Linked DNA regions of Homo sapiens: regions 1, 2, 3, 4, 5 and 7 are each linked to region 6. The links are contacts of gene promoters, found by promoter capture Hi-C in human tissues and cell types (Jung and others, 2019). All regions are on one chromosome and are shown on one strand. Each heading gives the region's core, a stretch centred on a gene start or on the middle of the fragment in contact. The rest is flanking DNA. Distances are from core to core; before and after follow the strand shown. Region 1 holds the start of LOC110091768 (a long non-coding RNA gene). Region 2 has its middle 86 kb from the start of LINC01422. Region 3 has its middle 100 kb from the start of LINC01422. Region 4 has its middle 98 kb from the start of LINC01422. Region 5 overlaps LINC01422 (long intergenic non-protein coding RNA 1422). Region 6 holds the start of MN1 (MN1 proto-oncogene, transcriptional regulator). Region 7 overlaps LOC110091768 (a long non-coding RNA gene).

Region 1 (2,700 bases), core at 91-2,590, 940 kb after region 6:
CCTTATTTGTCCCCTCCCACATCCTGCTGATTGGTCAATTTTACAGAGTGCTGATTGGTCCATTTTACAGAGTGCTGATTGGTCCATTTTACAGAGTTGCTGATTGGTGCATTTACAATCCTTTGGCTAGACACAAAGCGCTGATTGGTGCATTTACAAACCTCTAACTAGACAGAAAAGTTCTCCAAGTCCCTACTCGAGCCAGGAAGTCCAGCTGGCTTCACCTCTCAGCAGCAGAAAAAGACCATACATATGTTAACAAATAGATAAGAATTCCAGAAAGATACTGAAAAGTGCTTTACTTATTTTATTTATGTATTTAGAGACAGGGTCTCACTCTGCCGCCCAGGCTAGAGTTCAGTGGAGCAGTCTCAGCTCACTGCAGCCTCAACTTCCCAGGCTCAGGTGGTCCTTTCACATCAGCCTCCTGAGTATCTGGGACCACAGGTATGTACCACTATGCCTGGCTAATTTTTGCTTTTCCTAGAAACAGGGTTTCACCTGTTGTCCAGGCTGGTCTCAAATTCCTGGGCTCAAACAATCCACTGGCTTCAGCCTCCAAAAGTGCTGGGATTACAGGCATGAGCCACCAAACCTGGCCTATTTATTTATGTTTTAGAGACAGGGTCTCGCTCTGTCATCCAGACTGGAGCAAAGTGATGATCACAGCTCACTGCAGCCTTGAACTCCTGGGCTCCAGCAATCCTCCTTCCTCAGCCTCCCGAGTGGCTGAAACTACAGACACACATCACCAGGCCCAGCTAGATAAATGCTGAAAGGAAAATTAAAAGGGTCGTCCGGATGGAGTGACTGGAGACTGGTCAGAGAGCCCTGTCTGGGGTGACAGTTGAGCTGGGAATTTAACGATGAGAAAAAAACTGGCCTTGCAAAGTCCTAGGGGAAGAGGGCTCAGACAGAGGAAAGGCAAAAGCCCTGAATGTTTGTGAGTCAGAAAAGAAGGGAGAGTGGTTTGTGCACATTAGGTGAGGGGAGGTGGAATGGGAGAACCAGTTGGGTTGGGGACGGCTATGGTCATAAGTTACAACTGTAGGGGGAAAATATATCCGATTTTTATTTTATATGATAGCTTTTGCTTCTGTGTGGAGGGTAGATTATAGAGTGCTAGGGGACCTACTCAGAAGTTGTTACAATAATTTGGGAGAAGGATGGAGGTGGCTCAGGATATGGTTCTAAAGGAGGTTGCAAGCAAAGACCAGAATGATTCTAAGGGCTGGAAAAAAACTGTGAAAGATCAAGACATCCATCCCCCTGTGGTTATGCAAATCACATTCAAGCCTCCTGGAGACAGGCAAAGCCAAGATGATGATGTTTCCTACTGTTGTAAAAACCTTTCATGGTAGATCATTCCTGCCTTCCTGAAACCACAGCATCCTGGAATTGAAGGGATCTTCTAGACCAATTCCCCCTGAATTTCCCTTTCTCTTTGTTCTGACCATGCTCAGAACATCCCCAACAAGAAATTAACTGAGTTACACTTGAATATCCCCACGACAGGGAACTCTTTGTCAGAGCACTACCTACCACAGCTCTTTGTAGCCATCCTTGGACTGAGCTAAACCTACCTCCTGAATACTCTATCCCCCATTTAACCCTCCAGAAAAACAAAAAAATGAATGAACTTGTCTGGACCGTTCATGTTGCCCAGGAGAGCCTTGCAGAAATTGAGAGCATCCCTTCTGAGGTTTAACAGAAAAATCCTCCATGGCTGTATCCTCAATTCCTCACCTATGTGGGTAGCCCATACAATGTAGGGCATGAAGTCATTCACTATATCCCAGGAAAGAATGAGCAAGATTTATTTTCAGCATTTCAGGTGAAGTTACCCATGTACAGTGCCTGAAAGAGAGTAACCTGTCAATGCATGGTAACGGCTGTTGCTATTGTGGTCATTGTGATTATTGCTTTTGCCGTTATTGCCATTAGGAGTAATAGTATTGTGTTATTAAAGGTTGTTTTGTTTGGGGATCTGTTCCATGTGCCCATTGGAATTTCCCCAGGCATCTGACAAGGCGGATGACACTCATTCTCATCCTTGTATCACTTTGCATTGATGTTCCTTTTATCTCTGACACCCTTCCTCCCCCTTTTCTCTTGTAAACTGCTATCTACCATTCAGGACCTGGCCTAAACACCAGCTTCTCTGTGCAAACTTCTCATCATACACACACACACACACACACACACACACACACACACACACACAGAAGAGAGAGAGCAGAGTGAGGCCCTTCCTTTTCTGTGTGCTTCCATTTCACATAGTGGGCTTGCATTCTTCTTTGTCCCTTGGGCAGCAGTTTCTAAGTCAACGATAGGCCTTCCAATCTATGGGAACTTCACTTCACATCGAGGGACTATGGCCAAAGCCATGATACGATGGGCACTGACTATGTACCAGACTCCGTACTACTCATTTTCACCTGTGTCATCTCAGTTTATCCTCACAAATATCCTGGAATGTAGGTGTTACTATCATCCCACTTTACAAAGAAGGAAACTGAGGTTTCAAGGAGTGAGGTGACTCTTCACCTGGTCATCTTTTGGTCCTGAGTGCAAGCATTACTTCTGCAGGAAAGAGCTTCCTGGCCAACCCTGGACCAAGCTCAGGCCCTGCTACTGGCTCCTCTAGAATCTGTGCCTCCGTGACTTAACATGTAACCCCTCAAGTAAATAAATGTGCCT
Region 2 (2,700 bases), core at 131-2,630, 810 kb after region 6:
TGGGAGGGAAATAAGGGGGCTGTATCTTTGAGGATTCAGATGCTGGAGCCAGGGAAGCAGACGAGCTGACCCCAGACTGGAGTCTGCAACATAGAGCTCCTCTTCACCCCCAAAACATCACCAGAGCCAAAAGGCAGGAGCAGAGAGGGCTGCACTAGTCTAAGGCTCATTCCCCTTCACCTGGTGAGATGCTATTTCTATTCTGCTTCCCTACAAAGCATCCCTCGATTCTTTCATTTATTTACTCAACAAACAGATATGTACTAAGTCCCCATAAAGAACACCAGCACCTACTGTCATTCTAAGGCTCCTTGTAAAGTGCTCAGCCACAGCCTGGCTTCTGGCAAGCCCTCAACACCTCTGCATGTTCCCCCTGGGAAATGCTATCATCAGAATTTCACAGGAGCTGTTCCACTTTCTGAGATCACAGACCAGGGCTACAAACATCTCTTTTCCCTTTCTTCCACATGTGCTCTCTGGATGGATGCTCCAGCCCATGAATCCTTGGCTCCTGGTCTCTATATGGGTCCATTCATCATTAGCCAAGGTCAAGTCACAGGTGCCTCCTATCATTTCTCAATTATGGGTGGCCCCTGGGCCAGCACCATAAAGTGGGCTCTGCTTGGCTCATATTAATTAAATATCACAGGCTTCAGGGAAGGAGCCAGGGAAGGAGGCTTGGCAGCTGGCCTCTCTAGGCTTGCAGCTCCTTCTCCAGGTAAAAATGTATTCCCTCATTCATTCAACAGATAATTATGAGGCCCCTACATGTGTCCAGGCCAGGCACTATGCCAGTCTCTGTGTACCCAATAGCAAAAAAGATCCACATGAATCATACCCTGTGATGCACATACACCAATGAAAAGGTCCCCAAACTCCATGACACATCTTCGTGACCTAGCGTGATAGTCTGGTAAGAGGGCCTTCAGGCTCCATAGCAATGAGAAAAAAGATTTGGGAGTAAGGTGAGGTGGGGGACACGTGATAGTTACCTCATTTCTGAGTTCAGTAAGCATCAATGATGGAAACCAGAGGCAGTGTGACTCAGGACAGAGGGTCTGTCCAGCTCTAGGAGTAAGAAGACCCGATCTCCAAGCTCCTCTCCAGTCATAACACTCTGATTCTGTGACTTTCGGGTTCTTCGGGGCCTGTCCCTTTTTACAGTAAAGGAAAACAAAATAGCTTACTCACTGTGTATTAACAGTTATCTCATGGAATCATCCTCACCTACCATGAAATTCTTGATGCTAAATAAATGAGGACTGCAAGGGTGATGTTATTGGAACGTTTCAGAACCAAAGCTTGCAAAGAGGAGGAAAAGGTCTGTTTTGCATCTCTGAGTTTCCATAATCAAAATCTACCCATTTCTCTGCCTGCCTTTCTTCCTTCCTTTCTTTGCTTGTTTACTGTGATACAGCCTGGCAAGCCCCTGACATGTGGCCAGGTACACAGGGGCCACTCAGCACATGTCTGAGGATGGTGACCACTGAGGAATAAGAGGTCAGAGCACTGGCACAGGTCAAACACCAGACATATATTTGTCCATTGATTCTCTCAGCACCCCTGCAATCTGGGCATGTTTGCTACTGTTTATGGATAACACTAAGGCTCAAAAACTGAAAGTTACTTTCTAAAATTCTCCAGGCCTCCCTTACTCCAAAGCCCTGGCTCTTCCTGCCACACTGTTAGGAGGAAAGATCTGAGGACAAGGCCAGAAATGTGAAAGAGAAATGATAGTACAGGTTGCTGACAGACATGCTTTGCAGAATGGTCACTTTAAATTGTGAGTCCATTAGTGGAAAAGGAGATGTTTCGGCTCCTGTCCTGAGTATTCTAAGGTTTAGAATTCTAGCAACACTCTGACTATCCTGACAGAACAGTCAGAGATACAGTTAAGGCTCCATCCACCTGGACAGTCCTCACTGAATCATGTATGAGTGACAACTGAAAACAGTCATTAGTGTTCACTAGGTACCGAGAACTGTTCACCATATTTTACTTGAATTGATTTCATCATTATAAGAACTCCAGAAGTTATCACCATTGTTTTACAGATGAGGAAACTGAGACACAGAGAGATTACACAGCCTGTCTGTAATCACGTGGTCATGCTGCTGAGATGCTGGTATGGCAATTTCTGAACCCTGGTGCTTAGGGCTGGAGCCCAATGCCTTAACTTTCATGAAATATCATCTTCTCAAATGCACACCAGTAGGAAACTGATTGAGTGAATTAGGGAGTGTCCACCCAATGGAATACTACACAGCCATCAAAAGTACTTATAGTTGTTAATACATAGAAAAACGTAGAATGAAAAAGTCAGATACAAAATTACACATTGTATTATTTTATTGATATCTAAAACTGTCAAGGAAAAACTGAAGAAGGATATGCAGAATAAGTTCAGCTATCCTTCCATTCGTTCATTTATCTAACCATTCACCCATCCACCCATCCACTCACCCATTCATCCACCCAGCTATCCATCCAGCCAGCCAGCCAGCCATTCATCCACCCATTCACCCATATGCTCATGTATCCATTCATCCACTCACCCATTCATTCCTCCAAACATCCACCCATTCATCGGTCTATCCACCCAACTACCCATTTATCTATCCATCCATCCACCCATTTATTCATCCATCCAACCACCTATTCACCCATCCATCTACTCATCTATTCATCCATCCATCTATT
Region 3 (2,700 bases), core at 127-2,626, 800 kb after region 6:
TCCAGTCACCACATAAGAGGTACTAGCACTTGGCCGAATCTCTGGGGAATTTGGTTCAAATTCCAGTTGTGACATTTACAGGCTCAGTGACCTTTGGCAAATGACTTTCCCTACCTGAGGCTCAGTGTTATCATCTGTAAAATGAGAATAATACTCCTTGCCATGCAAGGGATTGAGAAAGTTCTGTAAGATAGTAACTCTCATAGCCCAGCAGGGGAAAGGAAATGAGAAGGAGCTGCCGCAGACTGCAGTTAAATTCTGCACCTCTTCCCCCGCCCTTCTACTATCTGATCTTGGAATAACCTAACTCTCCCCTTGTATTTTTTTCCTTTTTAAGGGATCTACAGGGGACACCATCACCTCAGAAGAAGGTCTTGTTTTGGTGGACATGGCCACTGGGGGACCAGATGTTTCTTTTTTTGTGACAGGGTCTCACTCTGTCACCCAGACTGGAGTGCATTGGTGCAATCTCGGCTCACCACAACCTTCACTTCCCAGGCTCAAGTGATTCTCCTGCCTCAGTCTCCCAAGTAGCTGGGATTACAGGCACCTGCCACCACACCCAGCTAATTTTTGTATTTTTAGTAGAGGTGGGGTTTCACCCTGCTGGATAGGCTGGTCTTGAACTCCTGATCTCAAATGATCCACCCGCCTGGGCCTCCCAAAATGCTGGGATTACAGGCGTGGGCCACTGCGCCCGGCCAACCAGACGTTTCTTAAGATTCATCCTAATTCTGAGGTTTGACCACTCCTTGGCTTGACATTCAAGGCTTTCCACAATCCAGTCCCAGCTCCCAACTCCCTGGGGGGCCATCTTCCCACTGTGAGCAAGGACAGCAGAGGGGAGGCAGAAGGATAGTCTTTGAACCCAAAGAGTTAAAAGATCGTCATATTCCTTGCTACATCAATGACACCTGACACAACATAAGTGCTCAATTTCTGGTATTGGAATGAAATAATACAATAAAATCCAGGGCTTCCTGGACAAGTGTATCTTAATGGAGTTAGTAGCATCTCCTAAGGGGAATTTTAGGAATGTAGGATGTGAAGCATTTTCTATTATCTTATCCCAGTGGTGCTCAACAAGTGGATATTTTGCACCCTCAGGAGACATTGGCAATATCTAGAGATATTTTTGATTGTCATAACTTAAGGGGGAGATGTTTCTGGCATCACAGAAACCGGGGAGGTTGCTAAACATCCCACAATGCACAGGAAAACCCCCTACAATAACGACTTAATCTGATCTGATCCAAGATGTCAATGGTACTAACTTTGAGAAGATCCGTCCTAGTAATTGGGGAGAATTACATCAGCAATGCAGGACATGCAATTCCCAAGACAGTCCCACAGCAAGAAGAATGGCCCCAAGTGCCTCAGGAATTTTGAGTGCCCTTCTGGGCATTCATGTAGATATAATTCCTCCTTAATAATTATCTGAGCCTAGAATTTAAATCCGTCTTACATACAGCTAAATGTTTTGGCACAGATTTGCTTTACATGGGATTTTCCTTGAATGTAGTTGCAGTGTAAATTGGGGGAAGGGAATACTTTGTTTTATCCAAAACCCCAACAAGAGTTGTTTTTCACTTTGGAAAATCCAGGCATCGACCTCAAAGTTGATCGTGGAACGTGAATTGCTGCCTGCACACCTGTGTCAGTCGACTTTTGCAGTCCTATTCACAGTGACACTACCCATATATATGAATATACTAATTTAGCTCTTATTTCAAAATGTCAAAAATAGAGAAAAAAATGTCGACAATATTCAATTGAATATTTGTCTGAAATTTCAACTTACTCATTATAAGTAGACACAAGCATCAGACCGCTTCATCATGTTTCCTGGCATATAGTGGTTTTTGATAATTTACATATTAAAATAGATATTATTTTATTATAAATTGCTTTCATTTTATTCCTCCCTTACAGTTAGGGCATTATATTAACTTTTTTGAAATTACATGTATATGTAGATGAAATGTATGATTTTCAATTCAGAATAGTGAAGTGGAGGTTATAATGTGTATAACGAAGAGTATGTGTGGTCTGGTAAGGCAGAGCTTCACTGTCTAGTTCCCATATTGAAAGGTCAACATTGATATTGAAGTGGCAGAAGCCAGAGACTCTAGTCATACTGTAATTCGCACTCACTAAAGAATCACCCTGAGTCACACATAAATTTTAAATGTTCTATAGAACATTCATGAAGGTAAACCTTTGTTTATAAACACCTGAGTCTAGCTATTTTATTACTCAGTGTTTGCTGTGTAACAAATAATCCCAAAAATCTCAATTACTGGCAAAAAGCATTTATTTTTCTTACTCAGAAGCCCTACAGATTGACTGCATTTGACTCTAGGCTGCTTCACCTCTCTCTCTTCCTCCATAGACCGGCATGTACCTGGGGCATGCTGTTCTCATGCAAATAACAGGACTGCAAGAAGCCAAGGCAAACCACACAGTATATTTAAATCTTCCCTTTGCATTATGTCTGCTCAGGGATCATTGGTCAAATTAAGTCACATGACCAAGCCCAGTAACAACTGGATGAGGAAATAAGCCCCACCTCTAGTAGGAAGGGCCTCAAAGTCACATGGCAAAGGGCAGAGGTACATGGAAGCTTGAAACATTGGGAACAAAAATCAATAATCCAGCCTAACTCTGTTTTATATCTAAACACAAATTAACTGTGACAGT
Region 4 (2,700 bases), core at 114-2,613, 1.0 Mb after region 6:
TTTGTCGATCGTGTGGCATCAGGCTCTGATGTCGCTGCTTTGTGGGGCTGATGACACATAATGCACGGTGACAATATGTCACATCAGAAAACAATCCCAAACGCACTCAGGTGGGACTGCAAACCCCAGGGGTGCTGGGGAAATCAAAGATTGGGAATCTTCAGCAAAGGGGGCTGTGGGAGAATGAAAATGGCCCCAACCCACTCCCCTGCTTTACCTGTTAGAAAAGTAAACAGCCACGTTTCCCACCAGTCCTTATGGAGTTCAAATGAATGGGAGGGTGAGACAATGGCTGAGTCTCCCAATCCACACCATTCATGTAGAATTGTAGCTTCTGTGGCCATGTGGCTCTCAGGTGCCACACTATGGGCCTTCCGTCTCATATAACTAATCTTGCCCAATCCTAGCAACCTGTTTGCTTGGAAGAAGTTACCATTAGCTCCTTATACAGGTGGGGAGACTGAGGCAACTGAAGGTAGGAAGGTGTAAGAGCTGCATGCACAGGCTCTGAAATCACAGGGAACTAGGACCTAATCCTGGCTCTTCCAATCTCAGGCTGTGTCACTTTGAGAAACTTATTTGATCTCTCTGAGCCTCAGCCTCTTCATCTGTAAAACGGGTATAAAAATGATACCTTATCACACAATACCTGATACGCAGCAAAAATCAATACAGATTCTTGTAATTGTTATTATCAAAGACCACAGAGCTCAGAAGAGTTGGAGGTAAAATTCAAACCCAGTTTCATGTAAAAGCCCATGAACTTTTCTCTGCCTCCCCACTCCCACCCAGCACCCTATCTGCCACCCAGCCAGTTCCTGACGGTTTTCCTCTTCCAATACGGCAATTCATCAAGCAACTCATCAGCACCATGGGATGATCACAGCCTCCATATTTATGGGCCAAGATGTTCTTTGCAAGGTTTCCACACAAGCATCAGAGAGAGAAGGTGGAATCATCCCCATTTTGCAGCTGGGGAAATTGAGGTTCAGAGAGGCAAAGGTATTGTTTTAAAGCTACACAGAAAGTAACAGGTGGAGCCAAGGCTAGAGCCTGGGTCACCTGCCGCCCAACTGCTGCCCTCCCGTTTTTAGTAAAAATTCCTCAGCCTGTCTAGCCTCATTGGGTTTGCACTGCAATTGCAGATGTTACATCTGATCCCATAAATCTTCCCATTTCTGCATGGGGAAACTGGGGCTCCAGCAGGAGACCCGCCCTGCCGAGGATCTCAGTGTGAGTCAGAGTCGCAACAGGAAACCTGGAAACCTCATCCCTCAGGCCCCTCATTCTCCTGCAAAAGGCAGTCCCTGCCACGGTGAGGTCTGGCCAAGTGCCTGGGTGGCCCCAAATAAAGCTGCCCCCTCCAAAAATGGCAATAGCCTGAAAACAAAATCCCTTTGTGCACCCAGTCCATGGTCTGGAGATCTGAACCCGCAGTGGCTGCACTAACCCGTCTCGTCCCCACAACCCGCAGAGGAAGAAAACCAAACCTTGAACCTGACGAAGCCCATACGAGTGGCAGGTATTAATTGGTGCAATTAGGCAGCTCTTTCCCAAGGCCACAGAAGCTTCAGCATCGATAATTAGACTCAGATTGGAATTCCTTTGGCCCTGCATGTAAACAGGACACTCTTTCTGCAGTTGCGGTAAATGATTTGTTCAAAGGGGGGAAACATTTACTGTAATTTGAAAGGAGCAATTGACTGTATTATTAGTGGATGTGAGTGCCCAGATGACAACAGACTCCACATTGTTCTGTCTTCTATCCAGGCCTGGGGACAGGAAACTTTGGCAGCAGGGTCCCCCAGTGGTTGGGGGGGCCCCATTTGGGAGTCGGAAAGACCCAAACTGAGATTTGAGTCCCACCTCCCCGACTTAGGTGCTGTGTGACCTTGGGCAAGTAATACAACATCTCCCTTTCCTCATCTGTAAAGTAGGGATGACACCAGTATATATATCATGGGGTTGCTGTGAGGATGAGATGAACCAAACACATATAAAGTGCTTCATAAAATAAGCTGTTGACCTTGTTGTTATTAGTAATCATCTTGGAAACACTCCTGAAGTCCCAGACTAGGTCACAGTCAGCTACCTATTCCCAAAGGGAATAAACAAAACGAACTATAACCCACACAACGGGTCATGCCTTTGACATTTATTGAGCACCAACTGTATACAGGATGGAGTCAGACAAGGGCTTTGCTCACTGGGTGCTCAAAGTGTGTAGTGAAGACAGACACATGAACAGATAACGACCAGAACCTCACATCCACACAACACTTTACAGTTTACGAAGCATGTGTAACTTACCTTCAGTAGCCCCCAAGGCTCTCACTTGAAAGCTGGTGTTATTATGCCCATGTCATTGATGAGAAATCTGCAGTTTTAAATCACTTACCCAGAACCAGCATTTGAATTCAGGTCTGTCTGCCCCCATGCCTATTACGATCTCTGGCAAATTTCTTCCCGTGAGGGAACGGGGCAGAGAAGAGTTAGGAAATTCCACTATCCTGGGAACCCCAGAATTAGGTGTGAGGTTGGCTGACTCCATCATGGCGGCTTCTCCAAATACAGAGATGTCCTCACTGTTCCTCTTCCCACCTCCTACCCAGGCCCTACTGCAGTGCTCCTGGGTGATCCTCACATCTCATCAGCACCCACTCTGCATGCTCTCATTTGGGGGTCCCATCCCTCCTGGGG
Region 5 (2,700 bases), core at 52-2,551, 890 kb after region 6:
TACTGACTTGCTCCGTGGCCTTAGGTGAGTCCCCTCCCCTCTCTAAACCTCAGATTTCTAATCTGTGGAATGGGATTCCAGATTTCTCACCAGGTTGGCACAAGCATTAGGTCAAGGTGAGGTCTCTGAGTAAGCCACTGAACTGGACAAGTGTCAGTCACTGCTACGGACTGAACGTGTTCTCCCAAAAATCATATATTGAAATCCTTACCCCCAGCACGATGCTGTTAGGAGGCTGGACCTGTGGGGGTGATTAGGTCATGAGGGTGGAGCCCTCATGAACAGAATTAGTGCCCTCATTAAAGAAACCGCATGGGGCTCCCCAGCACCCTTTCCACCATGTGAGGATACAGCAAGAAGTCGATAGTCTGCGACCTGGAAGAAAACCCCCATCAGAATCAATTCTGCTGGCCCTGATGTAGGACTTTCAGCCTTCTGCTTCCCAGACAGGGAGTGGACTTGTGATGTTTGGGGTAGCATGCCTCAAATAAATTCCTGTTGTTTATGAGCCACCCAGTCCATGCTCCTTTGTTATAAGCAGCCCGAACAGGCTGAGACAGTTACTGTCACTGTGAGTTGTACAAGATGGGAGGGACCTCAGAACCTGCCATCGTCCTCAGAGTTTGGGAGTCAGAACCTGAATGTGTGGAAAGAGAATTAGCAGTCCAAGGGGAGCACTGGCCAGAGTAGGGATCCCAGAGAGTGACTGCTGTTATGTAAAATCCATGCCCACGGTCCACCAGACATCTCTAATCCAGCGCTGACCCCCTCGCAGACTTTGGCTGGACCCTAGAACTCATCCAGCCCAACTTCCTCATGCCACAGGTGAAGAATTAGAGACCGTACGGAGAGAAGTGACTTGCCCACAATCTATCAGGTAAATTTCCTTTCATTTGTTACTGACTTCCAGGAAAGATGGTAGATTGAACACACTCCTCTAATATATTTCCTTCCCTAAAAGACAATACTATTATAATACAGGATTTGTTTTAAAGGCATAAACTCATAAGGACAAGGAGAACGGAGGAAAAGGTAACAGTCATGAGGTTTGGAAATGGGGAAGTGAGAAGGCAATGGTGGTAATTGACTTGGCAGATCCAACATGGCTAAGAAGTGGAGATGGTGAGGGACCAACCCAATTTGCACCCATTCATTATGTCATTCAATTATCTTTAATTTGTCAGTTTCTCTGTTCAGGCCCCGATGAAGATGAATGGGACTCTCCAGACCATGCCGCCCAGTGGTGCATGATCTTCTGGTGGCAACAGGGAAGCAAATGAGGCAACCTGTGGAGCCCTCTAAGGCAGACATACAGTTGGCCCTCCATATTCTTGGATTCTGCATTTGTGGATTCAACCAACAACACATCGAAAATAATCAGGGGGAAAAAAGGACGGTTGCAGGCCAGGCGCAGTATATCATGCCTGTAATCCCAGCACTTTGGGAGGCTGGAGGGGGAGGATCACTTGAGGCCAGGAGTTGGAGACCAGCCTGGCCTAACATAGTGAGACACCACTTCTGTTAAAAAAAAAAAAAAAAAAAAAATGTTAAATATACTTGAGAGCTTATTGGAAGAGTCAAAAAGCAATTCACCTGAATCTTGTAAAGCAACACAATCTACAGGCCCCTAGTTTTCTGTTTCTCTGTTATATTTAAGGATTCTCACTCACTTACCCACTCAATGTAACATAAGAAGATGTAACATAATAAGTATTTTCAGCCAGGCGCAGTGGTTCACACCTATAATCCCAGCACTTTGGGAGGCCGAGGCAGGAGAATTGCTTGAGCTCAGGAATTTGAGATCAGCCTAGGCAACAAAGCAAGATCCTGCCTCTCCAAAAAAATCAAAAAATAGGCTGGGTGTGGTGGTGCATGCCTACAGTTCTAGCAACTCAGGAGGCTGAGTGGGAGAACCTCTTGAGCCCAGGAGGTGGAGGATGTAGTGAGCTATAGTGGAGCCACTGAACCCCAGCCTGAGTGACAGAGACAGACACTGTCTCAAAAAAAAAAAGAATGGTTGTGCTGAACATGTACAGACTTCTTTTCTTGTCATTATTCCCTAAACAATAGAGTATAACAAGTATTTACATAGCATTTACATTGTATTAGGTATTGTTAAGTAATCTGGAAATGATTTAAAGCATACAGGTGGATTGTGTAGGTTATATGCAAATACTATGTCATTTTGTATCAGTGACTTGAGGATTCGTGGATTTTGGTATCCACAGGGGGTCCTGGAACCAATCCTTCATGGGTACCCAGGGATGACTATATATAAGGTACCAACAATAAACACCAAACTCTCACTGGAGGGATAAAAGGTAAAGGGTGCAAGGACAGAGGAGTTTGAGTTTGAGTTTGAGTTGGTTACTGAAGAAGGGTCAAGAAAGAGGAGTGAGCACTCCCAAGAACAGGAGGAGCTCATGGGAAGGCAAGGAGCAGAGATATGAAACTTTCAGAGCATTCCAAGTCCCTTAGAGACACCCTCAGGTGCAGATCTTGAAGGACCCTGTAAGTCAGAACATAGGGGTACTAGGGAGCCATTGAAAGGTTTTGAGCAGTTAAGTGACAAGGTCAAGAAATATCACTCTGACGGGGGTTGAACAGAAGAGTCTTTAGAATTCCCACTTACGTCTCTTGCCCTTTCTCCATCCCTTCTTCCATAAGCTTTAACTGAGCACCTACCGTGTGCATAGCCCC
Region 6 (2,700 bases), core at 60-2,559:
GATTTAATAGCGATATCAGGGGCACTTCAAAGAAAGTTCTTTTTTCGCCCTTCTCCTAAGAATGCGAATCTGCTAGCAAAATCGCCTCGTGCTATTTTATGGCAAGGAAAATTAAAGGCCTTCTCCCCCCTCCTTCCCTACACACACTTTAGGGAGGAACACACACACACACACACACGCATGCACAAACACACGCACGCAGGCGCGAGCACACGCACACAGGCGCACAGAATAAACACCTCTATCCTCCATCACCTCTAACTTCCAACTTCTAATTGCAAGATAGATTTCAGCCTCTGTGGGGATCAGGACGATCTAAACATTTTAACTAAGATTATTGGGATAAATATTTCATAAAGAGCAGGGCAGATATTAAATTACTCCTATTGATTTTAGTATCACAGCCCAATTCCATTCCTCGGCCTCTTCAGTTTAATTGATCTCTTAAGGAGGCCAACTTCGCACCCGCAGAGGGTCTGGGTCTTGGACCGGGTGGCCCAGGGCAAGGTGTGCGGCCCGGCGGGTGCGCCCTCTTCGTGCGTGTCTTCTCGGGGTTCCCAGCCGCCTCGCAAGTCGCTCCGGTTACTGGGCTCAACCGATGTGCTCCCCCATAAAGTGGCTGAGTGACTGTGACTCCTTGGAGCCCACGCCGGCCGGTGAGAACCGGGAACCCCAGGCAGTGGGGAAGGGGAACAATTGTGAACGCCCTAGTGACGGAGGAGTGAGCAAGCGCCCAGGTCTCTCGAGGAGAACCCTAACTTCGAGGTTCCCCGTCTGCTTTACCCTCCAAGAAAATCCCAGGGCCGGCTAACTTGGGCGCCGCTAGCGGAGAACGGAGTGTTCACCCCGGAGCCGAAGTGCAGTAGACACTTAGCGACTTTCCGTGGCGAGTCTAGGGTCTTTGCCTGGCGACCTCATTGTCTGAGCGCCCCGTACCGCTCACCGCCCACCTCCCCGCCCCCTGCCCACCCGGTGGGTCTCGCTCCAGTTGGGGGTGGGGAGTTGGGAACAGTGTGAATGGGAAGGGGGTGAACAAAGCCAAGCTCCCGCCATTCTCCTCCGCCTGCACCCTCTCCAGCTCGATGCGCCCGGAGGCCGGGGCGCGCCCCCAGCGCACTGACGCCGGACCCCGAGGAGAGGCGGGCGCAGGGGACCCCAGAGCTGGGGTAGTGCGGGTTCGTGGCGGGGGCTTCGGCAGCCAGGACCCCGGACCACCTTAAGAGCGAGCCCCGCCCCGAGCCCGGAACTTGGGCGGCGCTGATTGGTGCAAATGTAATGGCTGAAATTGATTGCTGAAATGCAAAACTTGTTGCTGCTTCTCCCGGCGCTGGGCGAGAGGCAGACACAGAGAGGGGAGCCGAGACCCTCGGAACGCCCCACGCAGAGCCCCCCCGCTAGTCGGGAGAGGGGTGCGCAGACCCCCCAGAGCTGCCCCCGCGCCCCCCTCCCCCCATTCCGGGCTCTGAGAGCGCAGCGGGAACGCCTTAGCCTGCTCGCCCGGCGTGGCCCCCCGACCCGCGTACGCCCCCCTCCCTCAGGTCCGAGAGGGACTCGCGAAGCACCTCAGCGCGGAGGCAGGGAACCGGAGCCTTGGAGCGACCCAACCCCTCGTCTCGCTGCCCTCCCGCGCCTGCAACGGTGCGCGGAGACTCCGGCGAACTCAGACACCCAACGGCGGAGAACAGAAGCGGCAGGCGGCGGACGTGGCCGCGAAGCTGCGCGCCGAACGCAGCGCACCCGCTGCCGAGCAGAGGAGCCGCGCCTTTCCCCGACCCTCGGCTCCAGCCCCCGGCGCCTGCCGCCTCGCAGCCCCTCTGCGTCCTCGGCTCGGGGGCCGGCACCGGCGATGCCGAGCGGAGCCTCCAGTCCTCCGACCCGCTGAAGAAGCAGCAGCCGCTCGCCCGGAGCCTACGGGGATTGTGCGAGCGGATCGTGCTCGGTGGAGGCTCGGGCTGCGGGGCGCGGGGACTCCGGGGGGCGGGGGGAGGGACCGCTCTGTCGGTGCCCGGCGCCAGCCGCGGCTTTGAAGGGTCTCCCTCCCCTGCCCTTAGCAGCTCTGCCACGGACTCCGGGAGGCTGCGGGCGGCGTCCTGAGGGCTCCCCAGCAGACCCAATCGGACTTGAGAAGGTGATCGCTCTGCTCTCCCAACCCCCTTCCCTCCCCATTCCCCCCACTTAACTTTTTGTCTCCGTTCATCCGCGGCTTCGTCCCCTCCCCGCAGACCCACCCGCGGCTGTGACAACCGCCCGGGGCATGGGCCCCCCAACACGGCTCCTAGAGGCCCCGCGGCCTCGCAAGATGTGAGAGGCCCTCCCCGGGCAGAATCGGAGCTTCAGGAGAGGAGCTAATACCCCGCCCCCCGTCCCTCACATCAGGCGGGGTGGAGGTGCGCGCTGAGCCCCCGCGGTGCTGAGCGTCCCGGAGCGCCCAATCCTGGGCTGGAACGAGTAGCTGGCCGGAGGCGCGCCGCGGAGAGCCGGCTGTCATGCCCTATTGATCCCCCTCTGCCCCCCGCCAAGTATGTTTGGGCTGGACCAATTCGAGCCCCAGGTCAACAGCAGGAACGCTGGCCAGGGCGAGAGGAACTTTAACGAGACCGGACTGAGCATGAACACCCACTTTAAGGCCCCGGCTTTCCACACTGGGGGGCCCCCTGGCCCTGTGGATCCTGCTATGAGCGCGCTGGGCGAACCCCCGAT
Region 7 (2,700 bases), core at 11-2,510, 920 kb after region 6:
TGACAATTATGCCAATGAAATTATCACAAGAGAGGGTATTATCCTACAAGGGATCCAGAGAGAGTTTTGAAATTTTCTGGTCCACAGAGGCTGCTGTCCCCAAGTCACTAAAAGAAAATGCTGAACAAGGAAACTCAGGGAAAAAAATATAGTAGGTATTTATGCATCCTCAATTATATGTCAGATATGGTGGAAGTGCTTCACATGTGTCAACTCAATATTTATCCCCAGAACAGCCCTAGAGTCAGTAATACATCCCTCACTTTATGAACAAGGAAACTGAGCCCCAGAAAGGTGGTATGACTTGCCCAAGGGCACACAGATAGTAGGTGGCAAAGCCAGGAGTCAAACCTAGGTCCGTCTGTGGGCCCTCCTGACAATCCTCCTCAGCCAGGTCCCCAAAGGGGATAAAACGCTACTGACCTCCAAAACTGAATAAGCTTCACAAACTTCTAGTCATTTATACGTTTAAACTATATTTTCTTGATGCCCATCTAAAGGTACTGAAGGGAGATGAATTTGACACCGTTTCTGCCCCCAAGCACTCACAATCTAGTTCAGATGAGACCAGTAACTCCATAAAATAAAGTGTGAGGATTCAGGGGCCAGAGAGGGGAGGCGGCTTTAATTCCTGAGTTTCAGTTACCTCACACACTGAGGAGATTTGGAGAGGCTATAATTTCAAGAGTTCCATTAAACACGAATGGTAAACAAATAGACATTTAAGAGACATTATTTTGGTCTTCTGTCCAAAGTACCTTACCTTCCTTAGACAAAAGAGTTGTTGAAACAGTTTATTAAATTGCGCTAGATTGAATTTCATTGGGTTGTGGGACTATCTTGTGCTGGGAGTTGTGCTGACTTGGATTGGCTTGTATTGGGTTGACTTAGGTGGCTGAGAAGTGGTCTGTTGCATCATGTTGAAATGTAATTTGTTGGAATTTGTTGGGTTCAATGGTTTTTGCTGAATAAGGTCAAGTTGAATGGGGTTGTATTGTGTCGGTGGTGAGGTTGTACTAAGTTGGGTTATGTCGGTTTATTTCAGTTGAATTGATGTGGATTGAATTGGGTTAAGTAGATTTCGTTGGGTTTAGTTGGCTTGGCTTGGCTGGAATGAAACTGATTGGTATCCATCTATTGAGAAGGGTGTAGAGCCATTTCCTGTCCAACAAATAGAACTGCTCTGGAAAGCTCTATATTTTAGGGCCAAAACCCACAATGGATGGAGCCATTTTGCATTTGAGGAAGTATGACCCAAATAAATGGTCTTTCCATCTCTGCTAAAATCTAGTTTACTGGCTGCAGAGATGGCAATGAGGTATTAGGGGGTGGATATTGCAAAGGTCACACGGTTTGTATGCAATTCTGGCATCTCTGTCGGTCCTATCCTATTCATCAATTTGCAAAGCATCATGGAGCTCTCTACATGTGCTGGATACTGAAGATCAAAGGATGAATAATGCCCCATTCCTGTCCTTAAGGACTTAATGATGCCACGCAATTACTGTTTACTATAATATTGTCTCCCTTGGGCAAACTCGTCATCCTCAAATCTGGCTACCAGCAAGACAATTGCCAACACTCTGACCCCAAGACATTGGAACAATGGAGAATATCCACAAGCACAAAAAATACTTTTGGTCAGGAGCGGTGGCTCACACCTGTAATCCCAGCACTCTGGGAGGCCGAGGCAGGCTGGTCACTTGAGCTCAGGAGTTCAGGACCAGCCTGGGCAACATAGTGAAACCCCATCTCTACAAAAAGAATACAAAGTTAGCCGGGTGTGGCATGTGCCTGTAGTCCCAGCCACTCAGTTGGCTTCAGCCTGTGAAGCAAAGCTTGCAGTGAGCCAAGATCATGCCACTGCACTCCAGCCTGGGCAACAGAGCCAGACCCTGTCTCAAAGACAAACAAAACAAAACATACTTTTTAAATAAATAAAGCCTCTAGCAAGTCTGATTAAGAAAAAAATGGAGAAAGGGAGTGAGAAGGGAGAGTTATACAGCATAAGTCTTTTAACTACAAAAACAGGAGAGCTTTTACAAATTATTTCAAAAATACTACAAGCAGACAGGGCATGGTGGCTCATGCCTGTAATCCCAGCACTTTGGGAGGCTGAGGCGGGCGGATCATGAGGTCAGGAGATCGAGACTATCCTGGCTAACACAGTGAAACCCCGTCTCTACTAAAAATACAAAAAAATCAGCCAGGTATGGTGGCAGGCACCTGTAGTCCCAGCTACTCAGGAGGCTGAGGCAGGAGAATGGTGTGAACCCGGGAGGCAGAGCTTGCAGTGAGCCGAGATCGTGCCACCACTCCAGCCTGGGCGACAAAGCAAGACCCTGTCTCAAAAAAAAAAAAAAAATACTACAAGCAGCATACTTACCAATACATTTGAAACTTAAATAAAATGATTTGAAAGAAATAAAAATGACCAAAGTTGGCAGAAGAAGAAAAAAATGTTAGACTTAAAAGTCTAATATCCATTAAACATTGTACAAAATCTATTATTATCCCCTCTCCTGACCATCGCACCTCATTCCCTGGGAGCTTAACATTTTATAAACCTGTTATGTCAGACCTTTAATGTACAGGTAAATCCAATAGTCTATGCATTAAAGAATGAGAAAGGTGGGGCATAATTCAAATTCATTTGAGGCTAATAAGACCTTTATACCAAAATCCACTAAGAATAATACA

What was found. Contacts are between HindIII fragments. The study calls those that stand out against the background at their distance.
Region 1: a fragment that was not itself captured here is called in contact with the fragment with the promoter of MN1 in region 6 in 2 of the 25 tissues and cell types used here (dorsolateral prefrontal cortex and lymphoblastoid cells).
Region 2: a contact is called between a fragment that was not itself captured here and the fragment with the promoter of MN1 in region 6, in 2 of the 25 tissues and cell types used here (IMR-90 fibroblasts and lymphoblastoid cells).
Region 3: a contact is called between a fragment that was not itself captured here and the fragment with the promoter of MN1 in region 6, in 4 of the 25 tissues and cell types used here (aorta, dorsolateral prefrontal cortex, neural progenitor cells and 1 more).
Region 4: a fragment that was not itself captured here is called in contact with the fragment with the promoter of MN1 in region 6 in 4 of the 25 tissues and cell types used here (IMR-90 fibroblasts, dorsolateral prefrontal cortex, mesenchymal stem cells and 1 more).
Region 5: a fragment that was not itself captured here is called in contact with the fragment with the promoter of MN1 in region 6 in 1 of the 25 tissues and cell types used here (dorsolateral prefrontal cortex).
Region 7: a fragment that was not itself captured here is called in contact with the fragment with the promoter of MN1 in region 6 in 3 of the 25 tissues and cell types used here (aorta, dorsolateral prefrontal cortex and mesenchymal stem cells).

What each region holds. Positions count from the first base shown.
Region 1 is chr22:26,857,826-26,860,525 of GRCh38, reverse strand. LOC110091768 (a long non-coding RNA gene) reads right to left here and starts at 315. Exons shown (of 6, transcript NR_146604.1): 1 at 1-315. The HindIII fragment of the contact is 5,076 bases long and covers 1-2,700 here.
Region 2 is chr22:26,987,518-26,990,217 of GRCh38, reverse strand. No RefSeq gene overlaps it. Among named protein-coding and RNA genes, the nearest start is that of LINC01422, 86 kb to the right of the region's middle. The HindIII fragment of the contact is 6,951 bases long and covers 1-2,700 here.
Region 3 is chr22:27,004,441-27,007,140 of GRCh38, reverse strand. No RefSeq gene overlaps it. Among named protein-coding and RNA genes, the nearest start is that of LINC01422, 100 kb to the right of the region's middle. The HindIII fragment of the contact is 8,534 bases long and covers 1-2,700 here.
Region 4 is chr22:26,803,974-26,806,673 of GRCh38, reverse strand. No RefSeq gene overlaps it. Among named protein-coding and RNA genes, the nearest start is that of LINC01422, 98 kb to the left of the region's middle. The HindIII fragment of the contact is 8,411 bases long and covers 1-2,700 here.
Region 5 is chr22:26,906,753-26,909,452 of GRCh38, reverse strand. LINC01422 (long intergenic non-protein coding RNA 1422) reads right to left here. Exons shown (of 3, transcript NR_110540.1): 2 at 2,686-2,700. Among named protein-coding and RNA genes, the nearest start is that of LINC01422, 4.8 kb to the right of the region's middle. The HindIII fragment of the contact is 4,697 bases long and covers 1-2,700 here.
Region 6 is chr22:27,800,365-27,803,064 of GRCh38, reverse strand. It overlaps MN1 (MN1 proto-oncogene, transcriptional regulator), which reads left to right and starts at 1,309. Exons shown (of 2, transcript NM_002430.3): 1 at 1,309-2,700. The coding sequence starts at 2,522. The HindIII fragment of the contact is 23,630 bases long and covers 1-2,700 here.
Region 7 is chr22:26,881,764-26,884,463 of GRCh38, reverse strand. It overlaps LOC110091768 (a long non-coding RNA gene), which reads right to left. Exons shown (of 6, transcript NR_146604.1): 6 at 2,679-2,700. Among named protein-coding and RNA genes, the nearest start is that of LINC01422, 20 kb to the left of the region's middle. The HindIII fragment of the contact is 4,128 bases long and covers 1-2,700 here.